Regions from separate parts of the Homo sapiens genome. Here region 1 is linked to region 2. The links are contacts of gene promoters, found by promoter capture Hi-C in blood cells and fetal thymus (Javierre and others, 2016). All regions are on one chromosome and are shown on one strand. The core of a region is centred on a gene start or on the middle of the fragment in contact, and the rest is flanking DNA. Distances in the headings are between cores, read along the strand shown.

Region 1 (5,442 bases), core at 938-3,437, 1.3 Mb before region 2:
GGTGGATAGTGGCTGTGAATTTGTAGTTGTTGGTGTGTTTCTTCTGGAGCGTAAGCTCCTTCCTCCTCTATTGTTAGCCAGAGTTTTTGTTACCTTTGAAATAATTGCTAAATCAACAAAACATCTGTTACATTGCTGCTGCTCGAATGGCTATCTTTTAGAATTAGCACTCTTCTTTCTGAATCTGATGCCACAGCCTTTTGAACTTAAGGTATTTGGATGTGTCAGTAAAGGGGCTGTGGTAGCTGTGGTGACAGCAACTCCAATGGTGGTGACCGTAGAGAATGTGGCAGAGCTGTGAATGAGATGAAGAGATTTAGTGATGGCAGAGGAAACTTTGGGATTTCACAACTTTCTTCCTCCAAAAACTATTTGAAAGCAGATATGAGGAGTGGGAAATACAGAAACAATTCCAGCCTTTGTGCACCTTACAGCATAATGAGTGATGCTCACAGCTGATAAATAATAATAGCAAATACCTGTATAGAACTTACTATGTACTGGACACTTTCCCAAATATTTTACATGCGTTATCTCACATGTTCCACTCAATAATCCCAGAAGATGGAACTCTGATCTCTAGTTTGCAGTTGAGGAAACTGAGGCAAAGCAAGGTTAAGGAGCTTGCTCAAGATCCCACAACCAGTAGGTGACAGAACTGATATTTGAACCTAGGAAGATTGGCTTGAGAATCTGACACTTAAACACTATCCTATTCTGCTAACAAATAATGAATCAGTTGGCAACTATGGTAAGAGCTACAGAGACAATGAGAAGATGAGGGGGATTGAGCTGAGTCTGGAGGGTTTGGGAAGACTTGCCTGATGAAGTGATGAGGAGTGATGAAAAAGTCAGCCAGGTGAAGGGGCTTGTGTATATGTACATGTGTGTGCCTGTGTTCCTCTGCCCATGCATGTGGCATGGTCAGGGAGACACATTTTTAGGACTTGTGTAACACATCTCTGTAAATAGCTTCAAAATAAAATATCAATTTGTGATTCTTGTAATGGAAATTTACTTCATACACAACTTTCAGGCACTGTTTTGTAGCATAATTCAAAGTGATGCTGTCTTTGTATACGGCTTTAAGACAGTTTTTGAGCACATATCTCTGCATGTCTGTGTCCTGCTTTGTGGGCAGTAAGAAGCTTGGGAATCCCGGAAAGCTGAATTCACATTCCAGCTTTTTAGCCGTGGTCATTGCTCAGTTATTTGGGGTTGTGTTCTCTGTTTGTTGATTAATAGAAAATGCATTAAAAGTGCATAAAATAGAAAAATTACCCCCAATCAGTGCAAACGTCCACATATCTGAAGGCTTCTGTTGCAGGTGCCTGGTAATCATCAGAACCCCTCTAGTGAGACCACCAGGTTATTTCTGGGCTCCATCCCAGAGTCAATGGTCCCTCAAAAAGGAAGCTTTTGTTTACTGTAAGCAAAACCAAATGGGATTAGGAGGGCCATGGATTCAAGAACTCTAAAGACAGGGTTGAGAAATTAAGTGAGAAGGAGAAGACAGAGGAAGATCTAAGCATTGAGATTACTCCTCTGCCCAACTTAGTTGTGTTCTAACATTTTTAAAAACGAGATTAACTGGGAAGCAAATAGAAATTAGACTATTTATTAGCAAGCCTTTAGCAGTTTCTCATCAAGTGACACATTTGGTGTTTAGTGTTCCTAATGAGTTGCACTAGGGTTATTTTTACACTTTTGGGCATCTGTGGAGTGGTAAATGTGTTCCTAAATATTAGATATAATTACAATAAAATATGTTTATATAAATTTACTTGCTACCAGATTCAGACTAGTTTTGTTTTAATCAGGGTTTAGAATTATACATGACTTTCATCTCTCTTCACCTTTATCATCATTAATCAAGAGCTGACTATATCAGATGTCTGCACTTGAGTGGACACACTGGATCTCTTTGAATTTTGGTTTTCGAATGATTTTAATCCTCTTTTTCTTTTTTTTTATTGTTTATTTTTAACATTGAGATTATTTATTAGTGACTACAAGTGGAAACAGAGCAGAGGTGTGCAACGCTCATCACCCAGATAACTAATTTGCCCTTTAAATTGCATATCTGCCTCTTTTTTTTTTGTTTGTTTCTTTTTTTTTTATTATTATACTTTAAGTTTTAGGGTACATGTGCACAATGTGCAGGTTAGTTACATATGTATACATGTGCCATGCTGGTGCGCTGCACCCACTAACTCATCATCTAGCATTAGGTATATCTCCCAATGCTATCCCTCCCCCTCTCCCCCCACCCCACCACAGTCCCCAGAGTGTGATATTCCCCTTCCTGTGTCCATGTGATCTCATTGTTCAATTCCCACCTATGAGTGAGAATATGTGGTGTTTGGTTTTTTGTTCTTGCGATAGTTTACTGAGAATGATGATTTCCAATTTCATCCATGTCCCTACAAAGGACATGAACTAATCCTCTTTTTCTTTCCTCCCTCCCTTCCTTCCTTCCCTTTTTACTTACTGCCTTCCTTTCTTCCTTCCTGGCAGTGGAGCAGAAGATAAGGAAACCAAGTCTGAGGTTTGCTACTCAGAGGCTGGTGAGCTTGACTTGATCTTTCTCCTCGATAGTTTTATTGCTGGTAAAATGAGACAATTCATTAAATAGATCCCCTAAGAGCCCTGCAAGTCATAAAAAGTCTACATTTTCATTTTACATGAAAATATTTGACAGTACTTTCAGTTAAACAGTTTCAGTTTTTGCCTGTTTAAAAGAAGGTTGTAGGCCTAGCTCTCCACCCCTCTAAACCCGAGAAAGGATTCCCACAAATACAGCTTCACCAAATTTATAGGCTCCCAGCTGAGTTAGCAGAAACCAGGCAGCTGAGTGGATGAGCTTCTATTAGCACAATGGTGTTTGGTTATGCAGCTGAGTGGATGAGCTTCTACTAGCACAATGGTGTTTGGTTATGCAGCTGCAGAACTGGGGAGAAAAGCTTGAGACAATATTTATGAGGTGCGACTGTGACCTGAACTTTACAACTAGTTATCCTGGAGAATGCAGGTAATTCTTTTTTATTTCCTTGGAAAAATAAATAGCTATGTAAGGTAGGCTGAAAAATGGCCCTGCAAAGATGTCCATTCTGAGATGTTCTAATCTCAGAATCTGCAAATATGTTAATCTACGTAACAAAAGGAACTTTGCAGATGTGATAAAGGGTGTGAGATGGGAGGTTATCTTTTATTTTATTTTATTTATTATTATTATTTTTTAATTATACTTTAAGTTTTAGGGTACATGTGCACAACGTGCAGGTTTGTTACATATGTATACATGTGCCATGTTGGTTTGCTGCACCCGGTAACTCGTCATTTAACATTAGGTATATCACCAAATGCCATACCTCCCCACTCCCCCGACCCCACAACAGTCCCCAGAGTGTGATGTTCCCCTTCCTGTGTCCATGTGTTCTCATTGTTCAATTCCTACCTGTGAGTGAGAACATGAGGTGTTTGGTTTTTTGTCCTTGTGATAGTTTGCTGAGAATGATGGTTTCCAGCTTCATCCATGTCCCTACAAAGGACATGAACTCATCCTTTTTTATGGCTGCATAGTATCCATGGTGTATATGTGCCACATTTTCTTAATCCAGTCTATCATTGTTGATCATCTGGCTTGGTTTCAAGTCTTTGCTATTGTGAATAGTGCCGCAATAAACATACGTGTGCATGTGTCTTTATAGCAGCAAGATTTATAATCCTTTGGGTATATACCCAGTAATGGGATGGCTGGGTCAAATGGTATTTCTAGTTCTAGATCCCTGAGGAATCGCCACACTGACTTCCACCATGGTTGAACTAGTTTACAGTCCCACCAACAGTGTAAAAGTGTTCCTGTTTCTCCACATCCTCTCCAGCACCTGTTGTTCCTGACTTTTTAATGATCGCCATTCTAACTGGTGTGATATGGTGTCTCATTGTGGTTTTGATTTGCATTTCTCTGATAGCCAGTGATGATGAGCATTTTTTCCTGTGTCTGTTGGCTGCATAAATGTCTTCTTTTGAGAAGTGTCTGTTCATATCCTTTGCCCACTTTTTGATGGGGTTGTTTTTTTTCTTGTAAATTTGTTTGAGTTCATTGTAGATTCTGGATATTAGCCCTTCATCAGATGAGTAGATTGCAAAAATTTTCTCCCATTCTGTAGGTTGCCTGTTCACTCTGATGGTAGTTTCTTTTGCTGTGCAGAAGCTCTTTAGTTTAATGAGATCCCATTTGTCAATTTTGTCTTTTGTTGCCATTGCTTTTGGTGTTTTAGACATGAAGTCCTTGCCCATGCATATGTCCTGAATGGTACTGCCTAGGTTTTCTTCTAGGGTTTTTATGGTTTTAGGTCTAACGTTTAAGTCTTTAATCCATCTTTAATTAATTTTTGTATAAGGTGTAAGGAAGGGATCCAGTTTCAGCTTTCTACATATGGCTAGCCAGTTTTCCCAGCACCATTTATTAAATAGGGAGTTGTTTCCCCCTTTCTTGTTTTTATCAGGTTTGTCAAAGATCAGATGGTTGTAGATATGTGGCATTATATCTGAGGGCTCTGTTCTCTTCCATTGGTCTACCTCTCTGTTTTGGTACCAGTACCATGCTGTTTTGGTTACTGTAACCTTGTAGTATAGTTTGAAGTCAGGTAGTGTGATGCCTCCAGCTTTGTTCTTTTGGCTTAGGATTGACTTGGCAATGAGGGCTCTTTTTTGGTTCCATATGAACTTTAAAGTATTTTTTTCCAATTCTGTGAAGAAAGTCATTGGTAGCTTGATGGGGATGGCATTGAATCTATAAATTACCTTGGGCACTATGGCCATTTTCACAATATTGATTCTTCCTACCCATGAGCATGGAATGTTCTTCCATTTGTTTGTATCCTCTTTTATTTCATTGAGCAGTGGTTTGTAGTTCTTGAAGAGGTCCTTCACATCCCTTGTAAGTTGGATTCCTAGGTGGTTTATTCTCTTTGAGGCAATGGTGAATGGGAGTTCACTCATGATTTGGCTCTCTGTTTGTCTGTTGTTAGTGTATAAGAATGCTTGTGATTTTTGCACATTGATTTTGTATCCTGAGACTTTGCTGAAGTTGCCTATCAGCTTAAGGAGATTTTGGGCTGAGACAGTGGGGTTTTCTAGATATACAATCATGTCATCTACAAACAGGGACAATTTGACTTCCTCTTTTCCTAATTGAATACCCTTTATTTCCTTCTCCTGCCTGATTGCCCTGGCCAGAACTTCCAACACTATGTTGAATAGGAGTGGTGAGAGAGGGCATCCCTGTCTTGTGCCAGTTTTCAAAAGGAATACTTCCAGTTTTTGCCCATTCAGTATGATATTGGCTGTGGATTTCTCATAGATAGCTCTTATTATTTTGAGATACGTCCTATCAATACCTAATTTATTGAGAGTTTTTAGCATGAAGGGTTGTTG
Region 2 (5,264 bases), core at 546-3,045:
AATGGCATTCAGCAGCATCAATGTGGCTTAAACCCTGACAGCTTTGCCACAGACCTCAGGGCATTGCCTGAAGAAGGAACAGCACCCAGGTTCAGAACCATCCTACAATCATCCTCCCCAGAAGAAGGTGATTTCAGTCAAGTAGACCATTCTGAGAGATACTGTGACTGTTCTCAATGTCTACTTTTAGGGTTGCCTTGTAAGGATCTGCCTACCCACCCTAGTTAAGGGAGAAGTATATAACTTGAGCCTAGAACAGTGGACAGGGGGTGTGTTCAGCTCTGGACAGTATCTCATGTAGTGTGCCCATGTTATGCACATCTATGTGTGATGTCCTCTTTCTTTATCACAGTGGTTTTACTACACTTTCCAGGTAACCTTCTGTTTTACAAGTACTTTGATGTTACTCTGGCGGTGGAAGATTCCAAACCTGAAAAATCTGCATTGTTTTATATGCGTTTCATTATTGAGATGGAAAACCTTAAGTAGGTACTCAATAATGGGTAAGGCCGTTTCTTAGCTTCAACCTTGGTTCATCTGAATTGACCTTATCAGTCAATAGCACGGGCCGTTTCATTAAAATAACCAATGAATAATGTATCATAGCTTAGTTTAAAGTTTCAAATATGTTTTTAGACAGAAACATTCCAAGCATGCAAGTCAGGTGTATTTCCCAGATAAATAACAGTCTGGGGACGTTGCCCGTACAGGGAAATTCTCTGTTCTCAAGGAAATTTTCCCTTCTCGGGTTTCCTGAGGTTGAAATCCAGCGCGCACGTCATTAATCATTCACTGAGGTCGGTCCCTCAGTCAATGGCAGGTCTGGGTAAGCTAAAGCGAGCAGTTAGCTAACCCTTCCTGCCACGGGGATCCTGGGGCGAAAGAGGACAACTGGGCGGTCAGTTACATGTGCTGGTGTCCAGCCGCTGCCTCTCTTTCCCCGGTCGGAGCGCGGGGGTGCGTGTGCCCTCACTCTCACGAATACAGACGGAGAGCTTCCCAGAAGGAAAAACAAATTCGTCATAATGTTCAGCGCAGCCGAGAGTTTCCAACAAGAAAGCAGCTCCAGTCGTGGCATGATGACTCAGGGTGGCGTTTTAAACGCTGAATAAACCCATTCCTTAGCTCTTTAATAAATCGCTAATAACAGCAAAAACAGCCTTCTCCCCGAACCGCGCCACACCAAAGGCTTCCCAAGTTGGGCTGCGAATCCCTGTTTGGTTTTCCAACGCCGAAAGACGTAGAAGCAGTGGGATCTCCTGGTGGGACGCATTTCTCCAAGGGCTCCCAGAGAGAGGACGAGATAGCAGGGTTTACAGGGCAAAGAGAGGAGAACCTGGAAATCGTGTCCTGGGGGGCAAGAGTGCGTTGCCCAGTCACAAGTGTGCTGTAGAGGTGGGAGAGGACAAGGACCCATTTCCACATTTCAACCCTCCGTTTCTATCGCTGCCCCTGGAGGACTCAGCTGCTAACGCCGAGCTCGTTTCCACGCGGCTCTGGTCCTAGTCGGGGAATCCGGGTGGCCGCGCGACGCGAGAGAACTGCTGGGATGCGTGGCCCTGGTATGGGCGCACCCAGCGTCCGGGGCGCAGGTTCTCTCAGCCCAGCTTCTCCTCCCACTCACTCGCTCGGATCTCCTCCCTCCTTCACATCCCCCGCCCCCGGGACCGCGAGGCTCCCTCCCCGCACCGGCCAGTGAGTACACAAAGCCGCGGGTGAGGGGAAGCTTCGCAGGCGTGCACGGAGCAGTGAGATCACTGGCGTTATAAATATCCCGGTGCCAGCGCGGAGATCCGCTCGGGTGGCCTCTCTCTTCCCCTCTCCCCTTCTCTTCCCCGAGGCTATGTCCACCCGGTGCGGCGAGGCGGGCAGAGCCAGAGGCACGCAGCCGCACAGGGGCTACAGAGCCCAGAATCAGCCCTACAAGATGCACTTAGGACCCCCGCGGCTGGAAGAATGAGCTTGTCCTTCCTCCTCCTCCTCTTCTTCAGCCACCTGATCCTCAGCGCCTGGGCTCACGGGGAGAAGCGTCTCGCCCCCAAAGGGCAACCCGGACCCGCTGCCACTGATAGGAACCCTAGAGGCTCCAGCAGCAGACAGAGCAGCAGTAGCGCTATGTCTTCCTCTTCTGCCTCCTCCTCCCCCGCAGCTTCTCTGGGCAGCCAAGGAAGTGGCTTGGAGCAGAGCAGTTTCCAGTGGAGCCCCTCGGGGCGCCGGACCGGCAGCCTCTACTGCAGAGTGGGCATCGGTTTCCATCTGCAGATCTACCCGGATGGCAAAGTCAATGGATCCCACGAAGCCAATATGTTAAGTAAGTTACTCGCTCTCCTACAAAACCCGTCCTAGGCGGCCGCGGAAGATTCGGGAGGGACAGCAGGTATTCGCCGGGACACAGGCTCACCTTCCTGAGCCCAGGCCACTGGGACCAAGCTGATACTCAGAAACAGCCGGGCGGGTTGGGTGGAGATGCATCTATATGGCGTGCGCACACGCACCCCTCTCCTGGGCATGAGGAATTGCGATTTCTCAGGTGTATGTTACCTAGAGGCTGGTGCCCAGACGGGTACCTTGTTTTCAGTTTGCTCTAGCCTCAAAGACGAGTCCCCAGCCATGACAGGAGAGAACAAAAAACTCATTTCTTCTCACTCAATTTGTTTACCTTCTGCTTATGAACTAGCCTGGCATTTTTCATTAGGCATCAAAGGCAGCCCTTCTCCCTATCCATAACTGAAGTTATTTTTTGAAAAGAAGAATCAAATCCCAAATACTTCCCTCTTCCATCCGCTACCATAAACCTCAAATTAATATTGTATATGTATATGTATATATGTATATAAGTCTATGTATACAATGTATACACATAGGTAGATAGATAGATAGATAGATAGATACACAGATAGATAGACAGACAGATAGATAACTAGGGGACACCAGACAGACATTCCTGCTTGGAAGAAGATTGTGCTCTAGAAAACTGGACGCGTTTAGAGAGGGAGACATGATAAACATTGAAATTACTAACTCCAGAGTTGGATTTAACAATGTTTAGTATCTTGAGACCATGACTACACCGTATTAGGAGAGTGGCCAGCCTTTGGTCCCCAAGAACAGTTAGGGGAAAGTTCCTTATTTTAGAAGAAACGCAGAGGTTAAATTTGGTAGGGGTGCAGATTTTGTAGGACTTTTTATAAACAAAGTTTTAAATTTTCCCTCTGAGTTTTTTCTTTCAGCACGCTCTCTTTTTTCCTTTCTCATCTCCTCTTCCCTTCCACCCCATCTATGTTTCCAGACCATCGCAGCCACTCCTCTGGTTTCTCTTCACTGCCTCTAGGCAGCTGGGGGCAGGGACGGTTTGGGGCTGTGAGTAGGAGTGGGGAGATCTCTGTGGGGCTTTTGCTCAGTAGGGCCAGATCGCTCTTCCAGCGCGGGTTGGTCCACCAGGCAGAGCCCCAGCCAGGGCCTGTCAGGTACCCAGGGAGACCGGAAATGTAGCCAGGAGACAGCAGCGCTCACAGTCACCTGGTTTCAGTGTCAGCCTGGTTGCTCCTAGATGTTCCTAACTTGCTCCATCTCAGACCAAAGACTCCACGGGCCATTGGGCTCCTTCTTACACAGGCTCCAGAGGAGCGTGGACACCACCGGCGGTCTGAAGATTTGGCAGCCAGCAGTCTCCAGAGGGGGGTCGGAGGCGCGCAAGTGGGTAAGGCGGTAGGCTGGCTAGCCTCCTCCGGTGGGTTAAGGGGGCCTAATGCGGAAGACCTGATGGTTCATGCTGAGAGAAAAGCAGGTCTATGCCCGCCCCTCTGCGCCTGTCTAGTCTATCTGATCGCGCTGATTCAGCAGCCTGCGGCGCACGTGGTGAGGGCGCCTGGAGCGCCCAGCTGGAGAGAGGGCCCTCCGCACACGCACCAGCGAGTCCCAGGGCCTCCCTCACACTCCCGAGAGGAATCTATTTCCATATTTTAGAGTTTATTTCACTCATCGAATAACTGCTCATTTGGGGGATAAAGGGCAAGATCTGTTGGGGTGAAATGGAATTTTCTGAGATTTGAGGAATAATCAGTAACATCTATTTATTTCCATTCGTCCTTCTCATTTTGTCTCAACGGTCTTTTGACTCCATCAGCCATCACAGCTTATTCCCACTTCCGGCAACCTTTCCTTCTCTCTTACAAGAAAACTTTCTTTCTTCTGTTCTTCTTGTAACGACCCGTGGAGTCATTGGTCTGAGATGGAGCAAGTTAGGAACATCTAGGAGCAACCAGGCTGACACTGAAAGACAGGTGACTGTGCGCGCTGCTGTCTCCTGGCTATGTTTCCACTCTCCCTGGGTACATGACAGAGCACCAACAGAGGATAACTTCCGTGAGCTCAAGGGCGGACCCCAAACTAGCAGGCAGCAAGCAGCAGGTTGGAGCCCAGGGAGCTCAGAGAATGCTTCTGGGGAGGGTTTAGGTGTGCTAGAGATCTCAGAAAGCAAGGCTCATTCCCAGGATATTCACCATCTTCTCTACGAAGACACTATATGAGACGAAGGTAGTTTTACAGCTTAGGCCTTGCTAGAGGGGGTGTTGTAGAAAAGCAAAGGGGGGAAAATAAGAGCAGATCAAAAAGAGTGCACCCAGATAAACAAGACATTGACCACTACCCAGTATGTAACATGTACATTTTCTTTTAAAATCCATGTTGAAAGATATCTACAAGAGAACAGGGATGTTTCCTAAAACAGTGCCGACAAAAAGCTTAATTTAAACTTTTTCCTAATTTATTCTTGTTTACAATAACCTTTCAGAGTTTAGTTTCTGTGTCTTTCACATGACTTGCTTTCATTCATGCCATAAATCATGTACCCAATATAAGATACCTATCTCACTAAGCATGATATTTTGGTTACTTTTGTGTTGTTTGTCTTCCATAGAGTTTTTTTTTTTTTCCCCAGAAGAAAGCATAGCAAATATTCAAATCATAGTAATTTTCTGCTTTGTGATATCTGGAGTGTCTAATACTACTTCATAAAATTTTTACTACCTTTGATCAATGCAGAATTTGCATGTAATTTGGGAATTTAACATGGATCTCTGCCATTACCTAGCTGTAAAAGAGAAACAGAAACTTGCTAATTACAATTGGTCATTTACCTCTTTGAAGGCAGTAGTTGATGTTTCCTGACATTCGTGTAAACTAAGGTGTTGGCCATGGCCTTTCTTAGAGTATGTGAGGAAATGTGTTTAAATCTCCTAAGAGAGGCTGAGAGGGCTGGATCA

Evidence for each region. Contacts are between HindIII fragments. The CHiCAGO score rates a contact against its expected background, and 5 or more counts as called.
Region 1: a contact is called between a fragment that was not itself captured here and the fragment with the promoter of FGF5 in region 2, in 1 of 17 cell types (erythroblasts). The highest score is 5.7, in erythroblasts.

What each region holds. Positions count from the first base shown.
Region 1 is chr4:78,973,205-78,978,646 of GRCh38, forward strand. All of the region lies in intron 2 of LINC01088 (long intergenic non-protein coding RNA 1088), which reads left to right. Among named protein-coding and RNA genes, the nearest start is that of LINC01088, 4.2 kb to the left of the region's middle. The HindIII fragment of the contact is 1,547 bases long and covers 1,415-2,961 here.
Region 2 is chr4:80,264,869-80,270,132 of GRCh38, forward strand. It overlaps FGF5 (fibroblast growth factor 5), which reads left to right and starts at 1,796. Exons shown (of 3, transcript NM_004464.4): 1 at 1,796-2,311. The coding sequence starts at 1,957. RefSeq lists enhancers at 1,491-2,022, 3,765-4,335. The HindIII fragment of the contact is 3,016 bases long and covers 1,725-4,740 here.